Regions from separate parts of the Homo sapiens genome. Here all the other regions are linked to region 2. Evidence: promoter capture Hi-C in 16 types of primary human blood cells and fetal thymus (Javierre and others, 2016). All regions are on one chromosome and are shown on one strand. Each heading gives the region's core, a stretch centred on a gene start or on the middle of the fragment in contact. The rest is flanking DNA. Distances are from core to core; before and after follow the strand shown. Region 1 holds the start of ZP3 (zona pellucida glycoprotein 3). Region 2 holds the start of SRRM3 (serine/arginine repetitive matrix 3). Region 3 overlaps YWHAG (tyrosine 3-monooxygenase/tryptophan 5-monooxygenase activation protein gamma). Region 4 overlaps STYXL1 (serine/threonine/tyrosine interacting like 1). Region 5 overlaps POR (cytochrome p450 oxidoreductase). Region 6 overlaps MDH2 (malate dehydrogenase 2). Region 7 overlaps STYXL1 (serine/threonine/tyrosine interacting like 1).

The links. Contacts are between HindIII fragments. The CHiCAGO score rates a contact against its expected background, and 5 or more counts as called.
Region 1: a contact is called between a fragment that was not itself captured here and the fragment with the promoter of SRRM3 in region 2, in 1 of 17 cell types (total B cells). The highest score is 5.7, in total B cells.
Region 3: a contact is called between a fragment that was not itself captured here and the fragment with the promoter of SRRM3 in region 2, in 3 of 17 cell types (naive CD8 T cells, endothelial precursors and naive CD4 T cells). The highest score is 5.9, in naive CD8 T cells.
Region 4: a contact is called between a fragment that was not itself captured here and the fragment with the promoter of SRRM3 in region 2, in 1 of 17 cell types (megakaryocytes). The highest score is 5.8, in megakaryocytes.
Region 5: a contact is called between a fragment that was not itself captured here and the fragment with the promoter of SRRM3 in region 2, in 1 of 17 cell types (endothelial precursors). The highest score is 5.1, in endothelial precursors.
Region 6: a fragment that was not itself captured here is called in contact with the fragment with the promoter of SRRM3 in region 2 in 2 of 17 cell types (M1 macrophages and M0 macrophages); the score reaches 6.3 in M1 macrophages.
Region 7: a fragment that was not itself captured here is called in contact with the fragment with the promoter of SRRM3 in region 2 in 2 of 17 cell types (megakaryocytes and M1 macrophages); the score reaches 6.0 in megakaryocytes.

What each region holds. Positions count from the first base shown.
Region 1 is chr7:76,424,890-76,427,978 of GRCh38, forward strand. It overlaps ZP3 (zona pellucida glycoprotein 3), which reads left to right and starts at 61. Exons shown (of 8, transcript NM_001110354.2): 1 at 61-387. The coding sequence starts at 76. The HindIII fragment of the contact is 6,728 bases long and covers 1-3,089 here.
Region 2 is chr7:76,200,646-76,203,781 of GRCh38, forward strand. It overlaps SRRM3 (serine/arginine repetitive matrix 3), which reads left to right and starts at 1,251. Exons shown (of 15, transcript NM_001110199.3): 1 at 1,251-1,422. RefSeq lists a silencer at 1,098-1,337. The HindIII fragment of the contact is 9,812 bases long and covers 1-3,036 here.
Region 3 is chr7:76,336,310-76,339,557 of GRCh38, forward strand. All of the region lies in intron 1 of YWHAG (tyrosine 3-monooxygenase/tryptophan 5-monooxygenase activation protein gamma), which reads right to left. Among named protein-coding and RNA genes, the nearest start is that of FPASL, 20 kb to the left of the region's middle. The HindIII fragment of the contact is 1,556 bases long and covers 1,172-2,727 here.
Region 4 is chr7:76,018,476-76,021,438 of GRCh38, forward strand. All of the region lies in intron 4 of STYXL1 (serine/threonine/tyrosine interacting like 1), which reads right to left. Among named protein-coding and RNA genes, the nearest start is that of TMEM120A, 25 kb to the left of the region's middle. RefSeq lists an enhancer at 720-1,221. The HindIII fragment of the contact is 1,799 bases long and covers 360-2,158 here.
Region 5 is chr7:75,949,439-75,952,319 of GRCh38, forward strand. All of the region lies in intron 1 of POR (cytochrome p450 oxidoreductase), which reads left to right. Among named protein-coding and RNA genes, the nearest start is that of SNORA14A, 7.1 kb to the left of the region's middle. The HindIII fragment of the contact is 837 bases long and covers 1,214-2,050 here.
Region 6 is chr7:76,057,917-76,060,416 of GRCh38, forward strand. MDH2 (malate dehydrogenase 2) reads left to right here. Exons shown (of 9, transcript NM_005918.4): 4 at 53-162; 5 at 2,457-2,500. Among named protein-coding and RNA genes, the nearest start is that of MDH2, 11 kb to the left of the region's middle. The HindIII fragment of the contact is 5,688 bases long and covers 1-2,500 here.
Region 7 is chr7:76,037,320-76,040,272 of GRCh38, forward strand. All of the region lies in intron 1 of STYXL1 (serine/threonine/tyrosine interacting like 1), which reads right to left. Among named protein-coding and RNA genes, the nearest start is that of STYXL1, 9.2 kb to the right of the region's middle. The HindIII fragment of the contact is 8,407 bases long and covers 1-2,953 here.

The DNA.
Region 1 (3,089 bases), core at 350-2,849, 220 kb after region 2:
AGCCCAGGTGGCAGCAGCCAGCATCCCACGGGTATAAGATGGCCAGAGGCGGCTGCCTGCTGCTCTGCAGGTACCATGGAGCTGAGCTATAGGCTCTTCATCTGCCTCCTGCTCTGGGGTAGTACTGAGCTGTGCTACCCCCAACCCCTCTGGCTCTTGCAGGGTGGAGCCAGCCATCCTGAGACGTCCGTACAGCCCGTACTGGTGGAGTGTCAGGAGGCCACTCTGATGGTCATGGTCAGCAAAGACCTTTTTGGCACCGGGAAGCTCATCAGGGCTGCTGACCTCACCTTGGGCCCAGAGGCCTGTGAGCCTCTGGTCTCCATGGACACAGAAGATGTGGTCAGGTTTGAGGTTGGACTCCACGAGTGTGGCAACAGCATGCAGGTAAGAGAGGCTGGGGGCCCTGGCTTTGGTGGGAGGATGTTCGAGGCAGCCGGGTATGGGGACTGTGGCCACCATCGGTGGGAGGTGGGGTTGGGTGGATCCCTCTCACTTGTAGGTGGGGAGGTGGCCCAGTTGAGGCCTGAAGCTGGCACTGAGGTCACCGGACCCAGGGCAGCTCCTGCCTCTGATGCCCGACATTGGGTCGATGGGGTGGAGCCAGAGGTGGCCGTGCACTTCAGGCTGGCCCAAGCCACGCCACTCTCTCTCAGGTGGGTTTGTGACACACACAGGCCTGCGTGATAGGATAGCCCTGTGGGTAGCCTAAGGGGCTGTTTCTAAGGCTGGGGGCATTAGGAACTCATCCTGAAGAGACCCAAAGTATACATTATCTTAAAAACAACAAGTGGGCCGGGTGCAGTGGCTCATGCCTGTAGTCCCAGCACTATGGGAGGCCAAGACTGGAGGATCACTTGAGGCCAGGAGTTTGAGGCCAGCCTGGGCAACATAGTGAGACCCCATCTCTTAAGCCTTTAAAAAAACTAACTGGGGCCTGGTGTGGTGGCTCACGCCTGTAATTCCAGCACTTTGGGAGGCTGAGGAGTTTGAGACCAGCCTGGCCAACATGGTGAAACCCCATCTCTACTAATAATACAAAAATTAGCCAGGCATGGTGGTGCGTGTCTGTAATCCCAGCTACTCAGGAGGCTGAGGCAGGAGAATCGCTTGAACCCAGGAGGCAAAGGTTGCAGTGAGCTGAGATTGTGCCACTGCACTCCAGCCTAGGCAACAGAGCGAGACTCTGGCTCAAAAAAAAAAAAAAAATTCCACATAGATAAGTGGTATGGGGGCGGGGGCATCATAACCTTGGTGTTAAAGACCTTAAAAGCATCAGTGGGTCCCTGGGGGCAGCTCCAAGGGGGAGAGGCTTAACCTGTGGTACATGCAGGAAAAGACCAAGAAATCCAGGCCAGACCTCCCTTTCCCTAGCCAGTGGGGAAAGAGGCTGCAAGGAGAGGCCTTACGGCAGGGCAGGGCTGGGCACACAGCTCCCCAGCTAAACCCTGATCCCTGGACCAAGTTCCTGTGGTCCCATGGAGGGCCTGTCCTCTCCCGCCTCAGGGGAACCTGGCTCCTCCTCACCTGGGCCTAGACCCAGTAGCTTGCCTGGGATGGGGGCAAGTCCAGCCCCTGGAGCCCTCCGGCCAGAGCTCTGGTCTTAACTGTGGTCTCCTGGGCTCTCTTTGAGGACTCGAGGCCCTTGTTTTCCTGGGGAGGGAGGCCAGAGAGCTGCAGGAGTTACTTGAGGAATTATTCCAGTTTAGAGGCTCACAAACATGTCTTAGATTTACTTGGGGAGCCAGGTGCCTGGCTCCCCCCCCTTCTGTGAAATGGGCTTTAATAGGTTAGAAGCTGATAAGTGGTATTTTTTTGTTGTTGTTTTTGTTTTTTGAGACAGTTTTGCTCTTATTGCCCAGGCTGGAGTGCAATGGCGCCTATAATCCCAGCACTTTGGGAGGCTGAGATGGGAGGATCACTTGGGCCCGGGAGTTTAAGGCCACCCTGGGCAACATAATGAGACCCCCTTCTCTACCAAACACCACACACACACACACACACACACACACACACACAATAGGGTGTGGTGGCGCCTGCCTTTAGTCTCAGCTACTTGGGAGGCTGAAGTGGGAGGATTGCTTAAACCCATGATTTGGAGGCTGCAGTGAGCTACGATTGTGCCACTGCATTCCAGCCTGGAAGGCAGAGCAAGACCCTCTTTTATTAACCCCACCTGTGGAGCTTCTAAAAATCCTGATGTCCAGGCTGCTAAAATAGAAAGGATGTGGGACCAGCTGTGGGTAATAAGGATCTCAGGTGACTCCAATGAGGAGCAAAGCCTGCAAACTCCTTCCTCTGGTGTGGTGTTTCCCAGTTTTGCCCGGTGAGAATCACCTGCGGCTGGCCGTGCGCAGTGGCTCACGCCTGTAATCCCAGCACTTTGGGAGGCCGAGGCGGGTGAATCACGAGGTCAGGAGTTCAAGACCAGCCTGGCCACGATGGTGAAACCTCATCTCTACTAAAAATACAAAGAAGTTAGCCGGGTGTGGTGGCGGGCACCTGTAATCCCAGCTACTCAGGAGTCTGAGGCAGAGAATTGCTTGAACCCGGGAGGCGTAGGTTGCAGTGAGTTGAGATCGTGCCACTGCACTCCAGCCTGGGCAACAGAGTGAGACTCCGTCTCAAAAAAAAAAAAAAAAAAAATACAGCCATGGCCAGTTTCCCAGGTATACAACCTGTGCAGTTCTGTGGGGCCCAGTGCTTAATGGAATGCCCTCTTGCCCTGAAATGGTAATAACTTTTGAATAAGGGGCCCCACGAGCTATGCTGGTTCTGTCTGTGCTGGGGCACTTGCTAATAAGGTCTAGGACTATTCCCTGAAGATCGAGTTTGGTCAGGGCCAGGCAGCCACCTGAGCTCTTGGGCAACTTCGACCTCCTAGGCTCAAGCCATCCTCCTGCCTCAGCCTCCTGAATAGCTGGGATGGACTACAGGCACATGCCACCGTGCCCAGCCAAGTTATGTTTTTGTAGAGATGGGGTCTAGCTCTATTGCCCAGGCTGGTCGTGACTTCCTGGCCTCAAGCAATCCTCTTCCCTCCCAAAGTGCTGGGATTACAGGCATGAGCCACTGCACCCAGCCCTCAA
Region 2 (3,136 bases), core at 1-2,500:
TGTTGTTTTTGTTTTTTTGTTTTGTTTTTGTTTTTGAGACAAATTGAGGCTCTGTCACCTAGGATGGAGTGCAATGGAGCAATCTTGGTTCACTGCAACCTTCGCTTCTCAGGCTCAAGCCTTCCTCCCACTTCAGCCTCCCAAGTAGCTGGGACCACAGGTGCATGCATGCCACCACATCTGGCAAATTTTTGTATTTTTCATAGAGACAGGGTTTCCTCATGTTGGCCTGGCTGGTCTCAAACTCCTGAGCTCAGTGATTTCCCACCTCAGCCTCCTAAAATGTTAGGATTACAGATGTGAGCCACTGCATCCAGCCAAAATTTTAAAATTTAAAAAAATAATTTAAAATCTCCTGTCTCCATTAGGATGTCTCTCACACTACACCCTCCTTTTTTTTTTTTTAAATTTTTGAGATGGTGTCAAAAAATGACAGCCTCTGTCATTCAGGCTGGAGTGCAGTGGCGCCACCATAGGTCACTGCAGCCTCAAATTCCTGGGCTCCAGCGATCCTCCCACCTCACCTCCCTGGTGCCTTTTATTTTATTTTATTTTATTTTATTTTTGACCCTAAGTCTTGCTCTTGTCGCCCAGTCTGGAGTGCAATGGTGCGATCTTGGCTCACTGCAACTCCGCCTCCCAGATTCAAGCGATTCTCCTGCCTCAGCCTCCCAAGTAGCTGAGTAGTTGGGATTACAGGTGCCTGCGACCACGCCTGGCTAATTTTTGTATTTTTAGTAGAGACTGGGTTTCACCATGTTGGCCAGGCTGGTCTCGAATTCCTGGCCTCAAGTGATCCTCCCGCCTCAGTCTCCCAAAGTGCTGGGATTATAGGCGTGAGCCACCGCGCCCAGCCCCTGGTGCCTTCTTTAACACTGGGTGGGAAGAGAGTGTCCTGGCGAGGCCTCTGCACACCGACTGCATTTCCCAGATCCAAACTAATAACCTCCCTTGCCCCAGGCGCCTTCCAGGGCTGACATGCCTCCTCTCGCAAGTGGGGGAAACAGATGTCCCCGGGGGCTGGGGATAGGGGCGGGGGTGTGGGGAGGTGAGGGGCGAGGGGAAGGGGGGGAGGGGGGCGAAGGGGGCGGGGAGGAGGGGGAGCCGGCCGGGAGACGGCCCGGCCCAGCCGCCCGGGCTGTTGCCTCCGCTGCGGGCGTTCCTCCAGGCCTGCGGAGGGCGCTGCGGGCGCGGGGCTGGGCCGCTCTGGCTGGCGGGCGAGCAGAGAGGCGCCTCGGTGGCGGTGCGCTGTCCAGCATTTCAGCAAGCGGCGGCAGCACCCGCGGGGAGGCAGAGGGTGCGGGGCCGTGGGGGCCGCGGAGCTGCCCTGCCCAACTCAGCCCAGACTAGGCGGCAGCCCGGACCGGCGGGACCCGAGGGCCTGGCCCCAGCGCCCGGTAGATCGCGGCGGTCAGCGGTGAGGTGAGAGCGCCTGTGGGGCGGGGGCATATCCCCGAGGGGCTGGGGCTGGGTGGAAGCTCGGGCCTCCCCAGCACCCCCGTGGTCTGCAGGCTCCCCCGAGCAGAGGGGCAGTGTGGGAGGTCGGCGAGGGCGTCTGTCCGGGGGTGCCAGGCGCCCGGGGAGCAGAGATGAGGAACATTCATTTCACTGAGAGGGATGGAGACAGTGGAGACCTTTGGGGTCATGGGCAGGACTCCCCTGGGCATAAATGACCATGGCCTAGTCCATGAGGGTGCCAGGGAGGCCCCCCAACCGCAGTCCCACTGAGGAGAAGGACCTGCTCCCCAGGGAAGGGAGGACCGATGCAGTAACCCTGTGGAGATGCTGGTCACTGGCCCTGGTGAAGGGAGCAGGCCCCCACCTGGATGCTGGGCCTCTGTCCAGCAGGAGGTGCCGGCCCAGGGGACAGCCTGGCCCCTTTCCCGGCTACCCAAATGCCCCTAGGGAGGCAGGAGCTGGCAAGGAGAACTGGGTCTCACAGGATGGCATTTACTCTTGCACTGGGAAGAGGATGGAGGACACAGAAGAGAAAATAGCTACTAGGAATTTGGGAGGGGGTTCTCTGTGCACACCCCCCACCCCAACCACGGACGCCCAGAGAGAGTTTCTAGCCCAGAGTTAGACCTGCGCCAGAGTGAATTCCTGGTAAAGAAGAGAGCTGAGAAAAGACGCAGCCTCTGCCTTGCCTCCGCCTCCCCCTCCCTCCCAGGGCTCCTGCCTGGACAGTGTTGAAGCCTCCTGCAGTTCCTACTCCTGACAGCAGATCCATTGTGGGGAGAGATTTAGTGGGAGGAAGGGAAGGTTGTACCAAGGTCTGACGTGGTACTTCAATGCCTGTGCCCTATCCCAGCCATAACTTCTCGCTGTCCTAAGACCTCACTCACCCTAGCATCGGGGGCTTGAGCTGGTCTTTTGTCCCATGGCAAGAGAAAAGGCAGGTGCTGGGCTTTGACGGAGAGACGTGCACAAGTTCCTCTGTCCAGGGAGCATCTTAAGGTCATGGCCCCAGTTTGTGCCAGCTTCTTCCTCAGTCAAAAATAGGACCCAGCTGGCTAGGAAATTGTTCCCACACAGCAGTAGCTTTCTGGTTCCTTAACTTTATGCCCCATCCCACTCTCCTGTGGGGTGGAGGAGGTATTCTTGAAGACTGACTAAAGAGTCAACTGGGTTTTAAGAGGTAGGGGTATGTGGGTTGGGAGTCATGGACTCTGATGTCAGAAAGACATGGGATCAAATCTAGGTTATGTGACCTCAGGTAAGCCATTGACCTTTCTGAGTCTGTTTTCAATCTGTAAAACAGGTGTAGTGTTAGCAATGTCTACTTTGCTGTTGAAAGAAATAATCTGGATAAGGAGATGGGAGACTACTTTTACGGTATAAAATGCTGGGTGAGTGTTAGTAAATAGGAGACAAGTAAGAATTTCTTAAAGAAGAGCTGGATAAATGTGGAATAGTGTTCAGTGATATTTGAAGCACATTTTTCTGTTCCCAGAGGAGATGAACAGTGGTTGAGAGCCTCATGCCCAGCTCCATGCTGGGCACAATGCAACGGTTGACTCAGCTAATCCTCACAGAAGCTTCATGAGGAAGGCATCATTGTCCCTATTTCATAGCTGAGAAATGAAGCTTGAGTGACTTTCCCAAGGTCATGAAGCCACTCGCGCTGTCCTCCTGG
Region 3 (3,248 bases), core at 700-3,199, 140 kb after region 2:
ATGTTTCATTAATTGCAGTTTAAGTGTACCCCTCTGGTGGGGGCTGCTGAGGGAAGAAGGCTGTGCTTGTGTGGGGCAGGGGGTATATGGGAACTCCATTAAATTTTACTGTGAATCCAAAACTGCTCTAAGAAAGTCTGGCTTTTTTTTTTTTTTTTTTTTCTGAGACAGAGTTTCACTCTGTCACCCAGGCTGGAGTGTGATGGCACGATCTAGGCTCACTGCACCCTCTACTTCCGGGTTCAAGTGATTCTCGTGCCTCAGCCTCCAAAGTAGCTGGGATTACAGGCACCCACCACCACGCCTGGCTAAATTTTTGTATTTTTAGTAGAGACAGGGTTTCACCACGTTGGCCAGGCTGGTCTCGAACTCCTGACCTCAGGTGATCCACCCGCCTCGGCCTCCCAAAGTGCTGGGATTACAGGCGTGAGCCACGGTGCCCGGTCTTTTTTTTTTTTTTTTTTCAACCTAGCAAGTGCTAGGTATGAGACTTGGCTCCATCTTACATTTTCTGTCCTCCTAGAATTTGAGAATATTGTCACCTGAAAGGGCCAAGGGCCATGAAAAAGAGAAATGCAGTGAGTGCTAAATAGAAACAGAAAGAATGAGATGACCAAGTGCAGGATGTGCGCTGCTGTCCATGTTAAGGATACACCATGCAGACAGTGGATAAACCACTGCAAACGGATGGGACACGGTTCTCCTTCATCACAACTCGTTCGAAAGACAACCTATGTTTACTAAGTAATCAACTAAACACTGAAAATAACCTTATGTATCTGAAATAACACGCCTCAAACATGAACTCCCTTCTGTGCAGAAGAGTTAACATAATAGGCTTCAGTCTGCTGTCTTTCGAAAGGCCTGCTTACAAGGCTGGTCTCTGGCTGGCATCTGAGAACTTGGATTTAGGGAGGGTTCCCACCATTCCCTGATAAAGATGGCTCACTGTTGCCAATCTGTTGGTACAAACGATCTGGTTTATATTAAACCTGTTTTCCTTCTGGGAATCTGGATTTGGACATGTGCTAGGCAGGCAGAGGGTACTTAAGTGACCAGCCCCCAGCTGCTCTCTAACAAGACCCCTGGTAGACAGCATTTCTCACATATTGTCACAGCTTGGAATAATGATGCGTATCCCGTGTGATTTCCCTGGGAGAGGACTCTTGAAAGCTTGCGCCTGGCTTCCTCTGATTTTCATCTCCTGCGCCTCTTCCCTTTGCTAATTTTTTTTTTTTTTTTTGAGATGTAGTCTCCCTCTGCCACCCAGGCTGGAGTGCAGTGGTGTGATCTCGGCTCACTGTGGCCTCTGCCTCCTAGGTTCAAGTGATTCTCCTGCCTCAGCCTCCCGAGTAGCTGGGTCTACAGGCGCCCACCACCACACCCAGCTAAACTTTCTATTTTTAGTAGAGACGGGGTTTCACCATGTTTGGCCAGGCTGGTCTTGAACTCCTGAGCTCAAGTGATCCGCCCGCCTCAGCCTCCCAAAGTGCTGGGATTACCGGCATGAGCCACTGTGCCCGACCCCATTTGCTGATTGAGCTTTGCATACTTCCCAGTAAAAAACTGCAGCCATGAGTACAAGTATTTGCTGAGTCCCAGTACATCACCAAGCCTGGAGGCAGTCTTGGGGACTCTCAACACACATTCATTCCAGAAAACTTGATACATGTTTTATAAGTCCGGTGACCAGGGAAAAGATGATTAATGGCCACTACTTATCAAATAATTAATTCATCAAGCATCCATGGACCATCTAGTATATACATCACATTGTATCACAACGTGAAGACACAAAACACTAGTGGGATGTACTCAAGGTACTCAGTCTACACGGAGAAAATACAACTTATTCACATTGGAGTATCAGTCACAGAGGTATTCTTAACATAGCAAACTGCATGGAAACTTGGAGAAAATTTTAATTAGGAACTAACAACTTTAGTTGGGTTTTTCCAGCAGCGATCACCCTGGCTAAAAATTGTGCAGAGGGAAACATTCATTCGAGGAAGAGGAACAGCCTCAGAGTCGTGAAATTTCTACCCAAGGCCAAGCCAAGGTCTCACAGATGAGAGGAGAGCTGGGTGAGGGCCTGGGTTTGGCTGACAGCGCCAAGTCCCACTCCACAAGGTGGGTATTACACTCGCTTTACAGGTGTGACTCAGAGAAATAACATGACTTTTCCCCAGAGTCACCTCATTAACACTCCACAGAGCAGAAAAAACTCCAGCCCTCAGGCTGCAAATCTTGTGCTCTTTTTCTATGCTAAGAGTCTCTGATGATGTAACTTCTGCAACACCACAGAGAACCAGCTAATTTCTCTAATACATGAAAACCTCCAGAGAATTTCTAAGATCAATCTTAGAAACAGAAAATCTCAGTAACAGAAAAATGGAAAAAAGGAACGGAGAAAAGGAAAACAATAGGAAAAATGCTCAACCTCATTCATTCTGTGAATTGTTCTCTGATCACAATGCCAAGGCTTCATTGTGAAGGTGACGGTGTGGGTAACAGGCACGTATCCACTGGTCATGTGCATATGACAGAATTCTAGTTGGCACTAAAAATCACCTGTGCATTCACACGACATTTCTAGAAGGGTCTCAAAACCAGACTGGCTGGGAAGCAGTCAAGGTTGATTAGGTTGAATTTTGTACCGATGACTAGTAGTACTTATTCCAACAAACCCTCTCCACAATTTACCCTGTTATTCATACCTACAATTGAAGCTTAAAGCCAATCTTGAAAGCCAAGTTTTCAGAAAAGCCCAAAGCCAGTAATTTTATATAAACAGTTTATGGATGTATACAACAAACTCAAACCACACTTCTTTGCTTTCTGTGTGTTTTAACTTAGTTGTATAAAAATAATGGTAATAGGCTGGGCGCGGTGGCTCACGCCTGTAATCCCAGCACTTTGGGAGGCCAAGGTGGGCGGATCACCTGAGGTCAGGAGTTCAAGACTAGACTGGCCAATATGGTGAAACCCCATCTCTACTAAAAATACAAAAATTAGCTGGGCATGGTGACGCACACCTGTAATCCCAGCTACTCGGGAGGCGGAGACAGGAGAACTGCTTGAACCCGGGAGGCAGAGGTTGCAGTGAGCCAAGATCACACCACTGCCCTCTAGCCTGGGCAACAGAGCAAGATTACATCTCAAAAAATACATATAAAAATAATAGTAATAATAATGTATAAAAATGATAAAGATACAATGAAGAACAAAGGATACCTTTATACGGTTAG
Region 4 (2,963 bases), core at 9-2,508, 180 kb before region 2:
TGCCTCCCAGGTTCAAGTGATTCTCCTACCTCAGCCTCCCTAGTAGCTGGGATTACAGGCACATGCCACCACGCCCAGCTAATTTTTGTATTTTTAATAGAGATGGGGTTTCACCACATTGGCCAGGCTGGTCTTGAACTCCTGACCTCAGGTGATCCTCCCGCCTTGGCCTTCCAAAGTGCTGGGATTACAGGCATTATTAGCCACAGCGCCCAGCCCCATTCCTTTTTATGGCTGAGTAATATTCCATTGTGTGGACAGACCACATTCTGTTCTACCTGTTTAGCTGCTGATAGACACTTAGGTTGTTCGTGCTTTTTGGCTATTATGAATAACACTGCTATGAACATTCATGTAAAAGCTTTGGTGTGGATGTGTTTTCATTACTTTGGGGTCTATATCTTAACCTTCTAAAGAAACACCACACTGTTTTCCAGTGACTGCACCATTTTACTTTCTGGTTCGCAGTGTATGAGGCTTCCAATTTCTCCATGTTCTCACCAACACTTATTATCATCTGTCTCTTTGATTATTACCATCCCAGTGGGCGTGAATAATATCTCAATGTGGTTTTGACATCAATTTAATCTTAAACACCTTCATTGATCTGCAGAATCACAATCAGACTGCATGTAAATTAGATATATGTGACAGGAAGTTTGCATAATTAAGGCTAAGCCAAGACATCCTTAAACCAAGATATCCTGAGGCCAGGTTCTGGCCCAGAAAGAGAAATAGTGTGTGGCAGACTTCAGAGAGCCAGATAAAAGGAGAAAGAAAACAGCATGAACTCTAACTGTTTTTTTCTTTTTTTTTTTTTTTTAAATACGTTTTTTTTAGAGACAGGGTCTTACGCTGTCAGCCAGGCTAGAATACAGTGGTACAGTCATAGCTCACTGCAGCCTTGACCACCTGGGCTCAAGTGATCCTCCTGCCTCAGCCTCCTGAGTAGCTGGTGCTACAGGCATGCACCACCATGCCTGGCTAAATTTTTTTTTTTGTATTTTTGGTAGAGACGGGGCCTTGCTATGTTGCCCAGGGTGGTCTCAAACTCCTGGCTTCAAGCAACCCTCCTGCCTCAGCCTCACAAAGTGCTGGGATTACGAGTGTGAGGCACCGTGCCTGGCTAACTCTGCTTCCATATTGAATTTTTGTTCAGGGAGACAAAGACACTTCCAGAAGGGGCTGTGGAGGATATAAGTGGCTGGGACCTATCTGAGAGATGGCATTGACAGGAAGAATCTGGAATCTGCAGCCAGGCTGAGAGAGAATCTGCAGCTCTCAAGACAGGAGCCAAAGCTCACCCCACAGGGCCTGGCTCAGAAGTCAGAGTTCAGGCCAGGCATGGTGGCTCATGCCTGTAATCCATGCACTTTGAGAGGCCAATGCAAGAGAATTGCTTGAAGCCAAGAGTTCGAGACCAGCCTGGGCAACAAAGCGAGACCCTGACTCAAAAAAAAAAAAAAAAAAAGAAAGAAGGGGGTGTTGAGAGAAGCCTTGAGATGGTCTTGTACCCCCAAAGACTTTTCATTGACCTGAAAGATGCCATTTGAAACAAGAAAAGTTGCCTTGAATGCACAAGTTGTGTGGTTGTGGTTTCCTGTGAATGGGGGCCCCATAGCAAAGTAAGGTCAGTTATAGAATGTAAAGGGGATTATCCATGTTGAGTACCATCTCCTAGGGTTTCAAGGCCTAGCCTACAGTCCTAGGATTGCAGACCAGAGCCCAACAGGATGAGCTTAGGGAAGAAGGGACAATTTCCTGGCCAAGGACCTCCTGGGACAAAAGTCCAGACAGCTGGTTTTATGAAAGGTGGGAGCATAGCGCCACCCCGTGGCAGTTGGTGTGAGTGCCCCCAGCTTCTGGAACGGCACCCACAGGTGCAGTTCTGATTCCTAGAAGCAGAGCTCCCAGTGCCAATGGCAAAGGGTGGTCAGCCCAAAACCAGGGGCTAATGAAGAACACAGCAGAGCCTCAGAGGTTCGATGGAGCACATTGGAACTGACCACGCTTTAATGTTCTGACTTGGGGCTGCATGCTCTCGTGCCACTACCCAATCCCTGGGGGACAGGACAGAGCCAAAAAGGCCTGGGTTTGAATCCTGGCCCCACCACTTATAGGTGTGGTGGTTTAAAAATATGTCCACAACACTTTTAAAAGCTTAAGTCTCAGGCAACACAGCAAGACCCAGTCTTTACAAAAAGTAAATAAATGAGCTGGGTACCTTATCTTGCCATATCACCCAGGCTGGTCTTGAACTCCTGGGCTCAAGTGATCCTCCTGCCTCAGCCTCCCCAAGTGCTGGGACTACAGGTATGAGTCACTGGGCCTGGCTTCCTCACAGCTCTTGATGTTAGTTAGCGTCCTTGTAAGCTGTTCTGCAGATCCAAGTAAAGCCCTTGGTTCCTGGTGCATGGCACACATGGAACTGTCCCCATAAACTTTGTGAAATCAGCAAAGAAGGGAGGGGAACAAATGAAAATAAAGCAAGCTTGCAGCACATTCAGCATTCATCACTAAGTCACCTTGCTTGCTCTCCAACCTGCTTGCTCACAGCTGTTTGATGTGTATTGTCCTAGAATCACATAAGACCCTGTTACAAGAATTTTTTTTTTTTTTTGAGAAGGAGTCTCGCTCTGTCGCCCAGGCTGGAGTGCAGTGGCGTGATCTCCGCTCACTGCAAGCTCTGCCTCCTGGGTTCACGCCATTCTCCTGCCTCAGCCTCCCAAGTAGCTAGCAGGGACTACAGGCGCCTGCCACCATGCCCGGCTAATTTTTTGTGTATTTAGTAGAGACGGAGTTTCACCGTGTTAGCCAAGATGGTCTCAATCTCCTGACCTTGTGATCCGCCCGCCTCGGCCTCCCAAAGTGCTGGGATTACAGGCATGAGCCACCGCGCCCGGCCAAGAATATAGTTCCCCTTAACTGCTCTGTAGGTGACAACTTGAACATCATGGAACACT
Region 5 (2,881 bases), core at 382-2,881, 250 kb before region 2:
CCACTGTGCCTGGCCACTTTAGGTTTTTGTACGAAGTATGATGTGAAGACATCTCAGGGTTTGTTGTTGTTGTTGTTGTTGTTTGAGATGGAGTCTCACTCTGTTCTCCAGCACTCCAGGCTGGAGTCTGGAGTGCAGTGGTGTGATCTCAGCTCACTGCAACCTCCGCTTCCTGGGTTCAAATGATTCTCCAGCCTCAGCCTCCTGAGTAGCTGGGATTACAGGCATGCGCCACTGCATCCGGCTGATTTTTGTATTTTTAGTAGAGACAGGGTTTCACCATGTTGGCCAGGCTGGTCTCAAACGCCTGACCTCAGGTGATCCACCTGCCTCGGCCTCCCAAAGTGCTGGGATTACAGGTGTGAGCCACCGTGCCCAGCCCATCTCAGGGTTTTGATCAGGGAGGGGACATGACCTGACTTACTTTTTTTTTTTTTTGAGATGGAATCTCGCTCTGTCGCCCAGGCTGGAGTGCAGTGGCACAATGTCAGCTCACTGCAAGCTCTGCCTTCCGGGTTCACACCATTCTCCCACCTCACCTCCCTCCTCCTGTTTCTGGGACTACAGGTGCCTGCCACCACGCCTGGCTAATTTCTTGTATTTTTTTTTTTTAAGTAGAGACGGGGTTTCACTGTGTTAGCCAGGATGGTCTCGATCTCCTGACCTCGTGATCCACCCGCCTTGGCCTCCCAAAGTGCTGGGATTACAGGCATGGGCCACCGTGCCCGGACGATCTGACTTACTTTTTAAAGCATCCCCCTGTCTGCTGTGTGGGGAATGGCCCGTCCATCAGAATTCTCTTGCGGTGATTACGTAGGTGCAGATGTACCGCTAACCTCACTCCCAGCGTCGTCGATTTATTAATAGAAACTGCCATGAGTTATGCAATCAGCTTGAGTCTGCGTTGAGAAGGACTTCACATCATGGGCATTAGATCTCTTCTGGAAAATGAGGGGACCGGTCACTTGGGGAGTTAGAAGGGAGGAGGGTGAGGGACAGGGAGCGCGAGTTTCTTGGCTGCTGCCTTGTGATGGATAACAGCTAGACAGCTAGGGGAGCTCCTGTGTCACCATGGCACTCCTGACTGGTTCCAGTGGGGCCCTGACTGTCTGCTGCCTCATGACTCTGTGGGACAAGTCCTTCCAGAATCTGTCAGAGCAGATCCTAAATGCCTCTCTGTCTGGTTCTATGAAAATGTGACAGGTGGCTCATAAGCTTGACAGAGATCCTGATATGACTAGCATTAAGTAAATATTAAATGTGTTTATAAGATTAAATATAAATAGTTTTCTCTGGGGACAACAGAATTCACTTTGTCCTTTAATGTCATATCAAAAAAGCTGGCCAGGTGCAGTGGCTCACGCCTGTCATCCCAGCACTTTGGGAGGCCGAGGCAGGATCACGAGGTCAGGAGTTTGAGACCAGCCTGACCAACATGGTGAAACTCCATCTCTACTAAAAATACAGAAAATTAGCCGGGTGTGGTGGCACATGCCTGTAATCCCAGCTGCTCAGGAGACTGAGGCAGGAGAATTGCTTGAATCCGGGAGGCAGAGGTTGCAGTGAGCCGAGATCGCACCACTGCACTCCAGCCTGGGTGACAGAGCGAGGCTCTGTCCCCCGGCCCCCCCCCCCCCCGAAAAAAAAAAAGTCATATCAAAAAAGCCAAGTTGAGGCCAGGCACAGTGGCTCACGCCTGTAATCCCAGCACTTTGGGAAGCCGAAGCAGGCAGATCACCTGAGGTCAGGAGTTCGAGACCAGCCTGGCTGACATGGTGAAACCCCGTCTCTACTAAAAATACAAAATTAGCCAGGTGTCGTGGCGGGCACCCGTAGTCCCAGGTACCCTGGAGGCTGAGGCAAGAGAATCGCTTGAACCCAGGAGGCGGAGGTTGCAGTGAGTCGAGATGGTGCCATTGCACTCTAGCCAGGGTGACAGAGAGAGACTCTATCTCAAAAAAATAAAATAAAAAAGAAAGAAAAAAGCTAAATTGAGATGAACTCAAGCCATTGGAAAAGCAGCTCAGATTAGTGAGAAAGCAAAGACCCAAGCTTGCGGGCCTGTTCTGAATGGCCTGTTCCCAGCAGGTTGTGTAGCAGTAGACCGATGCCCACAACCCTCGGATGCCCTGGCTTCCCAGACCAGCCCCATGGTTTCCTGGTGACAGTGACAGCCATCAGCAGTCAGCTAGAACATAGTCTCTCATTGCCTAATTGCTGACACATGACTAAGGCTTTCCTGATTGAGTCTGGGTGCTCTGGTTGTGGTGAAAAACCCAGTCGGTCATATCCATGATTGCAAAATGGAATAGTGTGAATTTCAGGGCTGAGCCCAGCCTCCTTGGTAAGCAGCAGAAGCTGCTGTTTCAGGGACTCTCACTTGGACCTTTGTTGACTCATGTCACGTCTGCCTACCAGGTGTCGTTGGTGGAAGGACCAGTTGAGCATCTTATGAGGGAACTAGGCTGGTGACATGGGGGTTCCCCCACCTCCCTCCCGGACGGGGCGGCTGGCCGGGCGGGGGGCTGACCCCCCCACCTCCCTCCCGGACGGGGCGGCTGGCGGGGCAGAGGGGCTCCTCACTGCCCAGTAGGGGCGGCCGGGCAGAGGTGCCCCTCACCTCCCGGATGGGGTGGCTGGCCGGGCGGGGGGCTGACCCCCCCACCTCCCTCCCGGACGGGGCAGCTGGCCGGGCGGGGGGCTGACCCCCCCACCTCCCTCCCGGACGGGGCAGCTGGCCGGGCGGGGGGCTGACCCCCCCACCTCCCTCCCGGACGGGGCGGCTGGCCGGGCGGGGGGCTGACCCCCCCACCTCCCTCCCGGACGGGGCGGCTGGCCGGGCGGGGGGCTGACCCCCCCACCTCCCTCCCGGATGGGGCGG
Region 6 (2,500 bases), core at 1-2,500, 140 kb before region 2:
TCTGGAAATTTGTGGTGTTCTCTGTTAACATCTCATATTGGATCATTTCCAGGCATGACCCGGGACGACCTGTTCAACACCAATGCCACGATTGTGGCCACCCTGACCGCTGCCTGTGCCCAGCACTGCCCGGAAGCCATGATCTGCGTCATTGCCAATCCGGTGAGTGTGGCAGCACCCGGCTCTTGCAGCTATGGCAGGTGTTTAGGTGCTGACAGTGCGTGAAAAGCTCACGGTTTGCAGCAAAGGCTGCTGATGTGCTGGGGGGATGGGGGGATACACAGATGAAGGGGCTGAAATGGAGAGGTCGGGTGCACTAAGCAGAGGCCCGTCCGTGCACTTCCTAAGGACTCCTTCCAGCATGAACTGAATGAGGGTTGTCACAGCCAGCCTTGTGCTGTGGGCAGACCACGTCTCTCTCTGCTTTAGTTTCCCCACCTGAAGAGAAGTCCATTCTCAAGGCTCCTTTCAGCCGTGATTGTGGTGGTCTCTTGATTCCCTTTTTGACACAGTAGCTCCTACTTAGCCGGAAAAGTATGTTCCAAGAGCCCAGTAGGTGCCTGAACCCTGAACCCTGTATATACCATGTGTATACTGAACCCTGTATATACCATGTGTTTTCCTAGGCATGCACACCTGTGATAAGTTAATGCATAAACTAGGCACAGTAAGAGATTAACAACAACAACTCATAGTAAAACAATCACAACAAGATACTATAATAAAAGTTATTTCTTTCCCTTTAGTCAGGAACTTCCACCTTCTCGCTTAAGGGAAGTACTTAATGGCTTCTCTGGTTTCTGTTTCTCCAAATTGCCAGCATCACTACTCTTGCGCTTTGGGGCCATTGTAAAGTAAAATAAGGCAACTGGAACACAAGCATCATGATCCCTCAACAGCTGATCTGATAACCAAAATGGCTCCTAAGTGACTCAGGCAGGTGGTGTAGACGCATGGGTATGCTGGGCAAAGGGTTGACCCCTGTCCTGGGCGGGATGGAGCCAGAGTTCATCCTGCTACTCAGGATGGCATGCAGTTTTTTTGTTTGTTTGTTTTTGGCTCTGTCGCCCAGGCCAGTGTGCAGTGGTGCGACCTTGGCTTACTGCAGCCTCTGCCTCCCAGGTTCAAGCGATTCTTCTGCCTCAGCCTCCTGAGTAGCTGGGATTACAGGTGCATGCCACTATGCCCAGCTAATTTTTGTACTTTTAGTAGAGACAGGATTTCGCCATGTTGGTGAGGCTGGTCTCAAACAACCAACCTCAGGTGATCCTCCCGCCTCACTCTCCCAGAGTGCTGGGATTACAGGCATGAGCCACTGCGCCCAGCCAGTTTAAAACCCATGAATTCTTTATTTCTGAAATCTTCCGTGTAATAATTTCAGACCTCAACTGACTGCTGGTAATTAACACAGCAGAAAGTGAAACCATGGATAAGGTGGGACTATCTGCATTCTACTCAGGATTTCCATTCCTGGTCCCCTGTTGTCCCCATTTCCTCATTCACACACAGTCGCGGACACACACACAGCCACCCCAGGCCCCACTCACTGGTTTTTGCAGGTAGCTGCTTACTCTCGGAAACGTTGAGTGCTGCGTCCTCACTGAGAGGGCGGCCATGGTTCCCCAGCTTGACCTGCAGGGCCTTGTGCTCATTTAACAGCAGCCACCTCACTGCTCCTTCCTGGCGGAGCCTGGGTCCTGGTGTCTGAGGATGAGGATCAATTGGGGTGAAGGGGCAGGGACCATGATGTCACTGAGAGGCATGGATGCCAGCAGGCATGCAGAGCTCGTGCTCCTGGCCTCTAAGGGTCCTGCGTTCCCCAGAAGCTCCTCAGGGTGGTGGGTCACAAATAGAGAGCTGCTATTCCCTTTGTTGGGGAGCTAACCAGTGCCTAATAGAAACCTGGCCATTCTGTCATCTTCTGGCGTCCCGGGTGACGTGTTCAGCACTCGCCGTGTGTGAAGTCATTTAGTATTTATGACTTCATGAGGTTGTCGTTTCCCCCACTTACAGAAGAAAAAAACGGGTCCCAGGGAGTTAGGGTGACCTGCCCAGGGTCATAGCACAGAGGGACTGAGCTGCCAGTGGACCTGCTTCCTTGGAGCACACAGCCGCTGTGCACTGCTGTCCCATCAGGAGTGGCCCTGCAGCTGTGAGTCCCGGCCGAGCAGAAGGTGATCCATGGAGGCATCATCACACATTTCAGTTGATAGCTGAAGGGCCACCAAGGGAAGAAGCATCCTCTACAGCAAAGGGTTTCTTTGTTCACATGGTGCGGCCTGTCCTTTCTGGCAGGTGGCTTGCCAGTACAGAGTTATCAGACAGGGCAGTTTAATGTGGCATCTTTGGACTAGTTAGACCTTTGGGAAGGTCTGACAAAAAGCCCTTTTCCTGCTGTGGCTTGGCCCTGCTCTCGGAACCCAGGGCAAGCCATGCCTGTCTGTTGGATGTCCTAGGTTAATTCCACCATCCCCATCACAGCAGAAGTTTTCAAGAAGCA
Region 7 (2,953 bases), core at 141-2,640, 160 kb before region 2:
GGTCTGTCACCTTCCATATGACCACCTAGTCTGGCCTTCAAACCAGGGGTTCGTGGGTGGCTCTCTCCCCAAGTCAGCCCAGCATGGTCCAGAAGCTGTTGGGCTGGGAAGCTCCCCTCTAGTGACAGCACGTGTCTATATTTGGGGAAAACAGCCAACTGGGAAGGGATGTTTCATTAGAGGTTGCCAGAGCCTGTGACTAAGCAGGGACCCAGCCAGATCCAGCTCATCTCCCTGCCTCCCTGTGTCTGCTCAACACCCAGGGGACTTCCATCCTGACTGACGGTGGAGGTGTCAGAGGCTGGGCCTGACCACAGGCTTCTTGTAGGAGTTCGAGGATACTGCAGGCTTGACCCAGCGCTCAACTGCCAAGCCACCCTAACCCCCAAGACAGTCCAGGTGGACACAATTGATGGGCATTTGCTTCTGGTGAAGAGACAACACTTGATGATCCTGGAGAAGCCAGACCATGAGCTTCACTTTGAGACTCTGGCTCAAGCTGACCAGCCCAGGTAAGGGTCAGGGTCCACAGCCAATCCCCACCGCTGTTCTGGTTCGCGGTGGGAAGCTCAGGCTGTGCCAGCATGACCAAGGCTTAAACATAGTGACAGGCATCAATGCCCTCACCTGTAAGCTGAGATAATACACACTGGCAAAGCTATAGGATCATTCAAGAGCTAAATGATATAAATTGCCTAGCAGTGGGCCTGACACATGGCAGTAGCTTAGGAAATTCCTTTACTCCTACCCTCTCAGTTTCTTTTCCTGAAACAGGGGCTCACTCTGTTGCCCAGGCTGGCGTGCAGTGGCACAATCATGGCTCACTGCAGCCTCAAGCGATCCTCCCACCTCAGCCTCCTGAGTAGCTGAGGCTACAGGTGCATGCCACCACACCTAGCTAAGTTTTTATTTTTTTGTAGAGACAGGGTCTCGCTTCCGGAAGAGAACAATGGGGAAGAACAGAGAGGTCTGAAGGAATGTGGGGGTGTTTGGTTCTGTGGGATGACATGAGCCTCTCCTCTGTCGTCCCAGAAAAACCTCCCTACTCGTTATGTGACTTCGAGGCTGTCAGGACCTGCTTTATGTTTGGGAATTGAATGACATTTTTTTTTTTTTTTTTCCTGAGACGGAATCTTGCTCTGTCACCCCAGGCTGGAGTGCAGTGGCACGATCTCAGCTCACTGCGAGCTCTGCCTCCTGGGTTCCCGCCATTCTCCTGCCTCAGCCTCCTGAGTAGCTGGGACTACAGGCGTCTGCCACCACGCCTGGCTTTTTTGTATTTTTTTTTAGTAGAGACGGGGTTTCACCGTGTTAGCCAGGATGGTCTCGATCTCCTGACCTCATGATCCACCTGCCTCGGCCTCCCAAAGTGCTGGGATTACAGGCGTGAGCCACCGTTGAATGACATTCTTGAGAATGGCCTCAAGGCGAGCTAACTAACTCTTGTCATATTTGGGTTACATTTTGTTTTGCTGTTTTCTCTTAGAGACAGCGTCTCACTCTGTTGCCCAGGCTGGAGTGCAGTGGCGCGATCGTCACTCACTGCAGCCTCAAACTCCTGGGCTCAAGTGAGCCTCCCACCTCAGCCTTCCGAGTAGCTGGGACTACAAGTGTGCACCATCATGCCTAATTTTTTTTTTTTTTTTGAGACGGAATCTTGCCCTGTTGCCTAGGCTGTACTGCAGTGGTGCAATCTCGGCTCACCACAACCTCCGCCTCCCAGGTTCAAGCGATTCTCCTACCAAGTAGCTGGGACTACAGGCATGTGCCACCATTCCCAGCTAACTTTTGTATTTTTAGTAGAAACGGGGTTTCACCATGTTGGCCAGGCTGGTCTCGAACTCCTGACCTCGTGATCCACCCGCCTTGGCATCCCGAAGTGCTGGGATTACAGGCGTGAGTCACCGCACCCGGCCAACTAATTTTTTTTAGTTTCTGTAGAGTCAGGGTTCCACTATGTTTTCCAGGCTGGTTTCGAACTCCTGGGCTCAAGTGATCTTCCCGCCTCAGCCTCCCAAAGTGGTGGGATTACAGGCGTGAGCCACTGCGCCCAGCCAAGGGTCAGGATCTTAAGGGATTTGGTACAGTCTTTCCTCAATCCCAGCTTGACACATTCTCTGTGGCCTGAACCTTGACAAAGCTGGGTAATACAGTCCCAGGTCACAACACCCCCAGAGCTGTGGAGGCTGCAGAAGTGGGCCTGAAATCTGTCTCTTAACTCAGAGGGACACCAGGTCCCACTGGCACAGAAGAAAGAAAGAGGGAAGAGGAGGAGGAGACCAGGGCCATCATAACCTCCTAACTTTGCCTTGATCATCACTAGTATCTACTATCACCTTTTTTTCTTTTTGTGACAGTGTCTCTGTTGCTGAGGCTGGGGTGCAGTGGCGTGATCTCACCTCACTGCAACCTTCGCCTCCCAAGTTCAAGCAATTCTCCTGCCCCAGCCTCCCCAGTAGCAAGGACTACAGGCATGCACCACCATGACAGGCTAATTTTTGTATTTTTATAGAGACGGGGTTTCACCACGTTGGCCAGCTTAGTCTCAAACTCCCGACCTCAGGTGATCCACCTGCCTCAACTTCCCAAAGTGCTGGGATAACAGGCATTAGCCACGGCGCCTGGCCTCCATCGCTAGTACCTCTATATTTTAGGGAGAGCAGGTATGGATCAGAGGCCTAGATCCAGCCGTCCACATCCCTGCTCCTTGCCTTAGATCTTGCTATCAATTCCATGTCCCCAAACCTAAGCCTGCTAGACCCCTGAGAGGTGCCCTAGTGGTCCTGTAAGGGTAACAGGTCTGCTCATACGGCAACTAGGCTGTCAGGAGGCGGTGGTGGGGTCTGGAAACTACAGCACAGTCTCCAAAGACGGTGACCACCACCTTTGGCTCACTTCCTCCGACTCTGTCTCTGGGGCCTGCTTTTCCTCTGCTCCCTGATTGGGCTCAGGC